3 separate regions of the Homo sapiens genome follow, and regions 2 and 3 are each linked to region 1. The links are contacts of gene promoters, found by promoter capture Hi-C in blood cells and fetal thymus (Javierre and others, 2016). All regions are on one chromosome and are shown on one strand. The core of a region is centred on a gene start or on the middle of the fragment in contact, and the rest is flanking DNA. Distances in the headings are between cores, read along the strand shown.

Evidence for each region. The method cuts DNA at HindIII sites, captures the fragments that hold promoters and counts their contacts. A CHiCAGO score of 5 or more calls a contact.
Region 2: a fragment that was not itself captured here is called in contact with the fragment with the promoter of FAM241A in region 1 in 1 of 17 cell types (M0 macrophages); the score reaches 5.3 in M0 macrophages.
Region 3: a fragment that was not itself captured here is called in contact with the fragment with the promoter of FAM241A in region 1 in 3 of 17 cell types (naive CD8 T cells, naive B cells and total B cells); the score reaches 8.4 in naive CD8 T cells.

The regions. Positions count from the first base shown.
Region 1 is chr4:112,144,120-112,146,819 of GRCh38, forward strand. FAM241A (family with sequence similarity 241 member A) reads left to right here and starts at 1,335. Exons shown (of 2, transcript NM_152400.3): 1 at 1,335-1,614. The coding sequence starts at 1,462. RefSeq lists a silencer at 1,116-1,765 and an enhancer at 2,106-2,245. The HindIII fragment of the contact is 3,530 bases long and covers 1-2,194 here.
Region 2 is chr4:109,549,678-109,552,377 of GRCh38, forward strand. No RefSeq gene overlaps it. Among named protein-coding and RNA genes, the nearest start is that of MCUB, 9.2 kb to the right of the region's middle. The HindIII fragment of the contact is 1,212 bases long and covers 783-1,994 here.
Region 3 is chr4:109,430,822-109,433,521 of GRCh38, forward strand. It overlaps SEC24B-AS1 (SEC24B antisense RNA 1), which reads right to left. Exons shown (of 3, transcript NR_039978.1): 2 at 871-925. Among named protein-coding and RNA genes, the nearest start is that of SEC24B, 1.6 kb to the right of the region's middle. RefSeq lists a silencer at 2,624-2,700. The HindIII fragment of the contact is 829 bases long and covers 1,037-1,865 here.

The sequences.
Region 1 (2,700 bases), core at 85-2,584:
TCTCCATGTGTACACATGTTTACTTTCCATATTTACTTTTCTGTATTTTACCTGTACAATAACCCATCGTTTTCCCAATGTACAGATAAGGCATACACAGAAAAAAAAGTGATATTTTATTTAAACACCCTTCCATTTTCCTTGAATAAAATGGATGGAGTAGTACAAAAAATAATTATCAATTGGATATATTCCCCTCACCACCCACTGAGAAAGACATATTCTTACCCAGTTACAGAAAGATACATCATTTGATACACCATCAAACGACCCAAGGCTCCAACAAACAACACACACTAGGAAGCACTCAACAGAAAGGGACAAATACACAGACCTTCAGTGAGACACTAGGAAAGGAGGCTAAAGGAACAAGAGGGACAGTGAAATGTGTCTTCCTTGAAAAGGACGGGCAGATACTCAGGCAAGAACAGGGGTACTCTGCTGGAGAGTGTAACTGGGTGCATGTGTGTGTTTCTCTCTCACATACAAACCCACACACACTAATCTCTTATACAAATGCGCTCTCTCTTAAATATATGCACTGGCTCTCTCACACAAGTAATTTCTCTTTCACACTTGATCTCTCTCAGTTTCTGTTGTTCCCTCATACAATCTCTCTCTCACAGTCTCTTGCATACACATACAATCTCAATCTCTCTCTCTCTCTCTCTCTCTCTCTCTTTCCCCCCCCCCTCCTCTCTCTCTCTCTCTCTCTCTCTGAAACGGGGTCTGGTTCTGTCGCCCACGCTGGAGTGCAGTGGTGTGATCTCTGCTCACTGCAGCCTCGACTTCCCGCGCTGAGACGATCCTCCCACCTCAGCCTCCTGAGTAGCTGGGACCACACTGCCGCCACCACGCCCGCCTAATTCTATTTTTAGTAGAGATGGGGTTGCCCAGGCTGGTCTCCAACTCCTGGGCTCAAGCTATCTGCCCGCCTCGGCCTCCCAAAGTGCATACAATCTCTTATACGCAGTTTCTTTTATATAGAATCTCTCTCACACACACACACAAATCACGCTCAGCGTCTCTCTCACACTCTCTAACGGTCTCTTACGCACACACAATATCCCTCATACATACACACAGCCTCTCTCATGTACAATCTCCCTCATGCAGTGTATGTCCATAGTTTTTCACACAACACCCTTCTTCTCTCAGTCTGTCGGCCTCTCTCTCAATCTCACACACACACCCCCGCCCCCCAACACACCGTTGGCCCCGCCCCCTGTCTTGGCCCCTCCCCTGTACGGCTCCGCCCCGACGGCCGGGGGTTGGGCGAGCCAGTGACAGGAGGGGCCGGGCTGGTACTTCAGGCGCCCAGGCCGGCGGGGCGCGCTCCGGCGGCTCCTGTCAGCGGCGGGTGCGGCGGATCCCAGGGCAGCCTTCGGGCGGCGGCGCTGCCTGGTGCGTCGCGGCGTGGTCCTCCGGCGGCTGTCCGGGGCGGTAGGAGTTGGCTGCGGGATGTGCTCAGCCGGGGAGCTGCTGCGGGGCGGCGACGGCGGGGAACGCGACGAGGACGGGGACGCGCTGGCGGAGCGGGAGGCGGCAGGGACCGGGTGGGATCCCGGGGCGAGCCCGCGGCGGCGCGGACAGCGGCCGAAGGAGAGCGAGCAGGTGAGCGCGGGGAGGGGCGGCGGCGAAGCGGCCGGGTCGGGGGCCGCGAGCCCCGCCCGGCGTTGGAGGGAAGGGGCCCGGCCCGCGGGCCGCGCCGCAGCTCTGCCCCGCGTGGGCACTGGCTCCCCGGCGCTCTGGGAAGTCGTCGCCGGGAGCGGTTAGACGGCGCTCCCAGGAGGAGCGGCGGGGTCGCGCGAGTGCAGACGCCAGCGCCGGCCCCGGGGTCGCGTGTCTGGCGGGGTCAGCGTGGTTCGTCCCCTGGCGTCCGGCAGAGGATTCTCAGGCTGGCGCCCAGGGCTCGGAGGAAATGCCCTCCATAGCGGTGATTTATTTAAAAGCCTCACTTGTAAACACTTCTTTTTCAACTTCGAGTCCGTGCCCTGCGCCAGGTTTAGGAGACGCCGGCTCCCCTCCCGCCCTCCATCTTGCGTTTCCGAGCCCACACCTAGCGTGTCTGGAAGGTGTGGGTGGATTCCGTCCACGGGCAGCGCTGAAAGCATGAGTAGGAGCGGGTGTTACAATGAATGTCTTGACAGGGACTCTCCCAGAGCACGTTCTTCATAAATACAGATGAGATCAAAGCTTCAGTTAAAAAGTGGAGAGGCAAGAATATTGCTTTCGGTTATAAGAGGCCAGCCATAGTAAGGGAAAAGAGAAGTTGCGTAATTTTTTAAACTCTCTGAGTTTATCTCATTTAAATAAAGTGTGATAATGGGCATTATAACATCAAATATCTTAAAGATTAGGCAAAAGGTTTAATTTTAAAAATTGAATTGTATGTTGGATGAATTTTCTACAGCAAATACAGTATTTAGACTTTCCAAATACCTGAGGTAAGCCGCTCTTTAGACTCACATTAAGGAGCAGGAATTCAAATGATTATTGGCCTTTATTACAGCCTGTACTGTTAGGACAATTAATACCTGTCTCTCCTCATCTTTCTTCATCTGTCCTTTCTGTCACGTTTCACAAATTCCAGTATCATCACTAAATGCATTAATAGATGTATACCTTACATTGTTTCAATAGGTTACTTAGGAAACAGAGTAATACTGTGTGGCACACAAAATATGCCTTAGCGTTAGG
Region 2 (2,700 bases), core at 139-2,638, 2.6 Mb before region 1:
CTAAACTTCTCTGAGCTTTCATATCCCTACTAGAGAATAATGGTTCCTTGGTAAGAGTTTTGTGAGAATTATATGGAACGAGTATGTAAAGTTTCTTGTGCAGCACCTTACTTGTAGTAAATACTTGATAAATGGCAGTCAATGTCTTAACAAAATAACAGCACAACAGTAATAATAGTAATAATACTCCCACATTGAGCCTGCCCTTTGCCCTCCTATCACTTTCCACCTTCACTGCAATTATTCCACACTGGACATGGAAAACCAAAATATTATCATGTGGGCTGCTGCTACCTCCACTTTTACTGTGATCGATGTATTAACTACACTTTTTTGCTTCAGACCATCCAGTACAGATGGGTATACAGAAAGAAGCAAGTAGTCTTAGTTCATTACATGTACATAACATCAGACTTCAAAACTCGATGCTCACCAGTAAGTCACAATTGTGGGTTTTTTTTTGTTTGTTTGTTTTTGCTATCAGGTTTATTCCAAAAAGACTTTCTCAGGCTTTTGACCTATCTCTTTATTACAATAGTGGTTATGACCTCTTAAGCCTCTGAGCCTGTAAACATGCTGTTCCTCCTGCTAAGAACTCATCTTTACTTTTTTATCTGGTTAGCTGCTCTTCCTCCTTCAGTTATTAGTGTGTACTGATGCCAGCCTGTCCCTTACCACTAGCTTAGGTGGGGTCTCCCTGCTGTATGTTCACATAGCCCTTGTAGTTTTACTCTTATAACCTTTATGTCACTCTACTTAATTACTTGTTCACTAGGTGAACAAGCTTCCCCACTAGGTTCTGTGTAAGGAAGAACACAGAACTCATCTTTAAAAAAAAAAGTTCTTAAGTGTCAATTTTTTAAATTTTTTTTTATTTCAATAGTTTTGTGGGGTACAGGTGGTTTTGGTTACATGGATAAGTCCTTCAGTGGTGATTTCTGTGATTTTGATGCACCCATCACCATTACCCAAGCAGTATACACTGTACCTAATATGTAGTCTTTCTTTCTTTTTTTTTTTTTTTTTGAGTTGGAGTCTTGCTCTGTCACCCAGGCTGGAGTGCAGTGGCCAATCTTGGCTCACTGCAACCTCTGCCTCCCAGATTCAAGCGATTCTCATGCCTCAGCCACCCGAGTAACTGCGACTACAGGCACACACGACCATGCCCGGCTAATTTTTGTATTTTTAGTAGAGATGGAGTTTTGCCATTTTGGCCAGGCTAGTCTTGAACTCCTGGCCTCAAGCGATCCATCCGCCCCGGCCTCCCAAAGTGCTGGGACTACAGGCATGAGCCACCGTGCCTGACCCCACTATGTAGTCTTTTATCCCTCACCCCCACCCAACCTTCCCCACACCTGAATCCCCAAAGTACATTATATCATTCTTACATCTTTGCATCCTCATAGCTTAGCCCCTGCTTATAAGCGAGAACATACTATATTTGGTTTTCCATTCTGGAGTTATTTCACTTAGAATAATGGCCCCCAGCTCCATCTAAGTTGCTACAAAGGACATTATTTTGTTTTTTATGGCTGAGTAGTATTTCATGGTGTGTGTATATATATATACACACCACATTTTCTTTATTTACTTGGGTGATGGGCATTCAGGTTTGTTCCATATTTTTGCAGTTGCAAATTGTGCTTCTGTAAACGTGTGTGCACGTGTCTTTTTCATATAATGAATTCTTTTCCTTCGAGTAGATACACAGTAGTGGGATTGGGATTGCTGGATTGAATGGTAGATCTACTTTTAATTCTTTAAGGAATCTTCATATTGTTTTCCATAGTGGTTGGACTAGTTTACATTAGCACCAGCAGTATAAAAGTGTTTTCTTTTCACCACATCTACACCAACATCTATTGTTTTTTCACTTCTTAATTATGGCTATTCTTGCAGGAGTAAGTTGGTATCTCATTGTGGTTTTAATTTGCATTTCCCTGATAATTAGTGATGTTGAGCATTTTTTGATATGTTTGTGGGCTGTTTGTATAAGCTTTTGAGAATTGTCTATTCACATCCTTTGCCCACTTTTTGATGGGATTATTTGTGTTTTTCTTGCTGATTTGTTTGAGTTCTTTGTAGATTCTGGATATTAGTCCTTTGACAAATACATAGTTTGTGAATATAGAAACTCATCGTTTTTATTCATCACTCTACCATCAGCCTAGAACAGTGTCTGGCAAATCCTCATGTACTACTAACCACAAGTTTGTGTGTTTCTATTATTTTTAAAAGTGGCTGTAGTTTTTTGGGGTTTGTTTTTTTGTTTGTTTGTTTTTTTTGAGACAGATTCTTGCTCTGTCACCCAGGCTGGAGTGCAATGGAGTGATCTCGGCTCACTGCAACCTCTGCCTCCCAGGTTCAAGAGATTCTCCTGTCTCAGCCTCCCGAGTAGCTGGGATTACAGGTGCACACCACCATGCCTGGCTAATTTTTTGTATTTTAGTATAGATGGGGTTTCACCATGTTGCCCAGGCTGGTCTCAAACTCCTGAGCTCAGGCAATCCACCCACCTCGGTCTCCCAAAGTGCTAGGATTATAGGCGTGAGCCACTGTGCCCAGCCTAAGGGCGGTTGTAGTTTTAAAGTCCTGTTTTATTATTGATCTATTAAATTTATTCAGCAGATATTTGAGAACCTACTACTTAGGTGCTGGTGATAGAGCAGTGAACAAAACAGACAAGGTCCCTTCTGTCAT
Region 3 (2,700 bases), core at 201-2,700, 2.7 Mb before region 1:
CTTCCATATATGCAGCAGAGATTAATTCAATTACCCACTCTTTCTCACTGAACAGACTTGGCCTCAGCATCTGCATCAACACTATACCTCAGAGAATCTGAGTTGACATAGGAAACATCATAATTGGCATTTGTGACACTGTAATCACAAATCTACAAAATATCACTTTTATTGGTCTGTAAAAGATTGAAGAGATGTCCTGAAAGAAAGGACCATCATCTTCCAAAGTAAGAGAATGAACCAATTCAGCTTAACTCTGCTATTCAAAAGCAGTGGTCCTCAAACTTCCCCATGCATCAGAATTGCCTGGAGAGCTTGCTGTAGGGCCCTATCTCCACCACTTCTGAATCAGTATACGGTCCAGGGTTTGGGCCCACAAATCTGCATTTCAAAAACTCTGAGATCTACCATTGTAGAGTACACTGGAACAAATTCTAAATATGAAAAACTGAAAATCTTTTGACAGCAAGACAGTAAATCATAACTAGCATAGCTTTATGAAGAAAAATGTAAATTAACCCAGTATAGTTTATAGTAAAGCAATGGTCTGGAGCTAAATAATCCTTGGTTTGACCGCTGGTTCTGCTAATTCCAGGTTCATGATTTTTACTAAGATTACTTCAGCTCTATAAACATTAGTTTCTTCACAGATAAAATAGGGATAAGAAAAATATCCCATGGAGTTATTGTTAGGATTAAATAGAAAAAAATACATATCTAGATTTACAAGCACAGTGCCTAGTAGATGGTTCAATCCTATTCATTCAATTCTTCATCCTTTTTTCACTTATAGTAGTAATGGAAATTAAAGCAAAAGAGTGAAATATTTTCATAAAGGTTGTAGTGTTTGTCAGGAGGAAAAATATCTACCTTCTAGAAGGGGTGCCACGGCAGCGACAGCACAAGGCCCGTGCGTCTGGGGTTCCTGTAACAAAAGAAAGGCATATGAATGTATGATATTTAATGTAAGTTTTACATGGCACCAGAGCCTTCATAAGGAAACGAAGACCTGAAGAAACCTGAGCGTTTTATACCAAGCTTGATGAAGAGTAGACTGTTATGGAAAACTGTGATAAGACAAAAAGATGGGCTAAGGGCAGTAAACTGGGGGAAACCTACCAAGGCCTATTCATTTAGATTCCTCTTGGCGTCTCTCTGTCTTCACAAATAAGACTGCTTCTTTTCTCCAGGTATAGAGAGGGCATCTCTCACATGAGGGTCTTATGACCTGCTTCATGGGAAGGTCAGAGTCCTCACACCTGCCATTTCTCAAATTCCATCAGCTTAAAACATTCAATATGCCAAGGTGTTATATTTTGGGGTAGTGTGCCCTGAACACCATCATAAACATGCTAGAAAAATTCTACAGCAAATTAGTGGACAAGGGGAAGGAGCTTAGGTATTAAAGATTGTGGAGAAGATCTATTAAAACACAGGGCCCCAATCCTCCTCTTAAGGAGTCTCCCCTTAAGAGACAGGGTTCACTTTCATCCCATATACTTCTGATTAAAAGGAGCCTCTTATACCCAGGAGAATACATTCCAGGTGCAGAAAGCCAATTACCTAGTTATTCCCTTACCCACGTAATTATAGACCTTAATCCAAATTCAAAGGACTCCTGGGAGATGCTGGAATCTGTAATTGTGTAATCTCTTTGATGAAGCACAGAGTGTGATCTTTTGCTCATGTGGGGCTAGGTTTCTGTGGAGAAGCTGGAAATGCTGTGGAAAAGGGCTTGCCCCTTTTGTGTATATGAACTCTAATGTAGTTGAAATTCCTAGAAGTCAAAGATATAAATCTAACTACTAAAATTCATTTAGTGCATTAAAATGCCAGTTATTAATTTACGGCAACAACTAAAGGGAAGCTTTGTATTATTCTAGGACTACAATGCAATTTATGCTTTGCATAATCATTCAGTAAATGACTTATTGCTCCAGAAATACCATCTTGCTAGATCCCATTCTGAATTCAGTGTTTCTGAGCAATCTCATCTCCAATACAGAGTGATGACATACTCAGGATTCCAAGACGGCAAAATGACTTGGGTAATGTAGTCTAGGGCCTGCCAGTGAGTATGCTGAGACAGACCAGAAAGACTTAAAGATTCCACTAATGTAGACAAAGCAAGCTGAGCCACAACTTCTCGGAACACCAACAGGATGCACCAACAATCGACAAAAAAAAAAAAAAAAAAGGAGATAAAGTTTAAAGTTTGTCTTCCAGCATTCCCTTACCCTATTTTCCCCTTCCTCTTCCCTACTTTATCAGTGGGAAAAGTTCTCAATAATGCAATTCTTACTGAGATTCTTGTGTTTATCAGAGAAATGTTTCCTCTTTCTTTGCCAAGGAATTATATATTCCCAACAGACATGGCGCTTGAATGCTATATTTCCTTTGGAATCAAGAAAGGGGAGGTGGGGGAATCAAAAATTAAAAACCAAACCCAAGCCATTGTTCCTCTTCGAGGAAGGGTGGGTGGTCAGTCGTCGCCTGAGCTCCGAACATCAACCCGCGGCTCTCAAGTTCCCCTCCCAGTAATGCTGGGCCCAGCCTCGCCGCGGCCGATCCAGCCTCTGCCCTAGGTGGAAGCGGGCCACCCGGTCCCTTCACCCACTGAGGCCCAGTCCTTTCGCCTCAACACGAAGGCACCTGGCCGGGCCGGAGCAGCAGCCGCGGGGCCGGCACTGGGGCCACGGA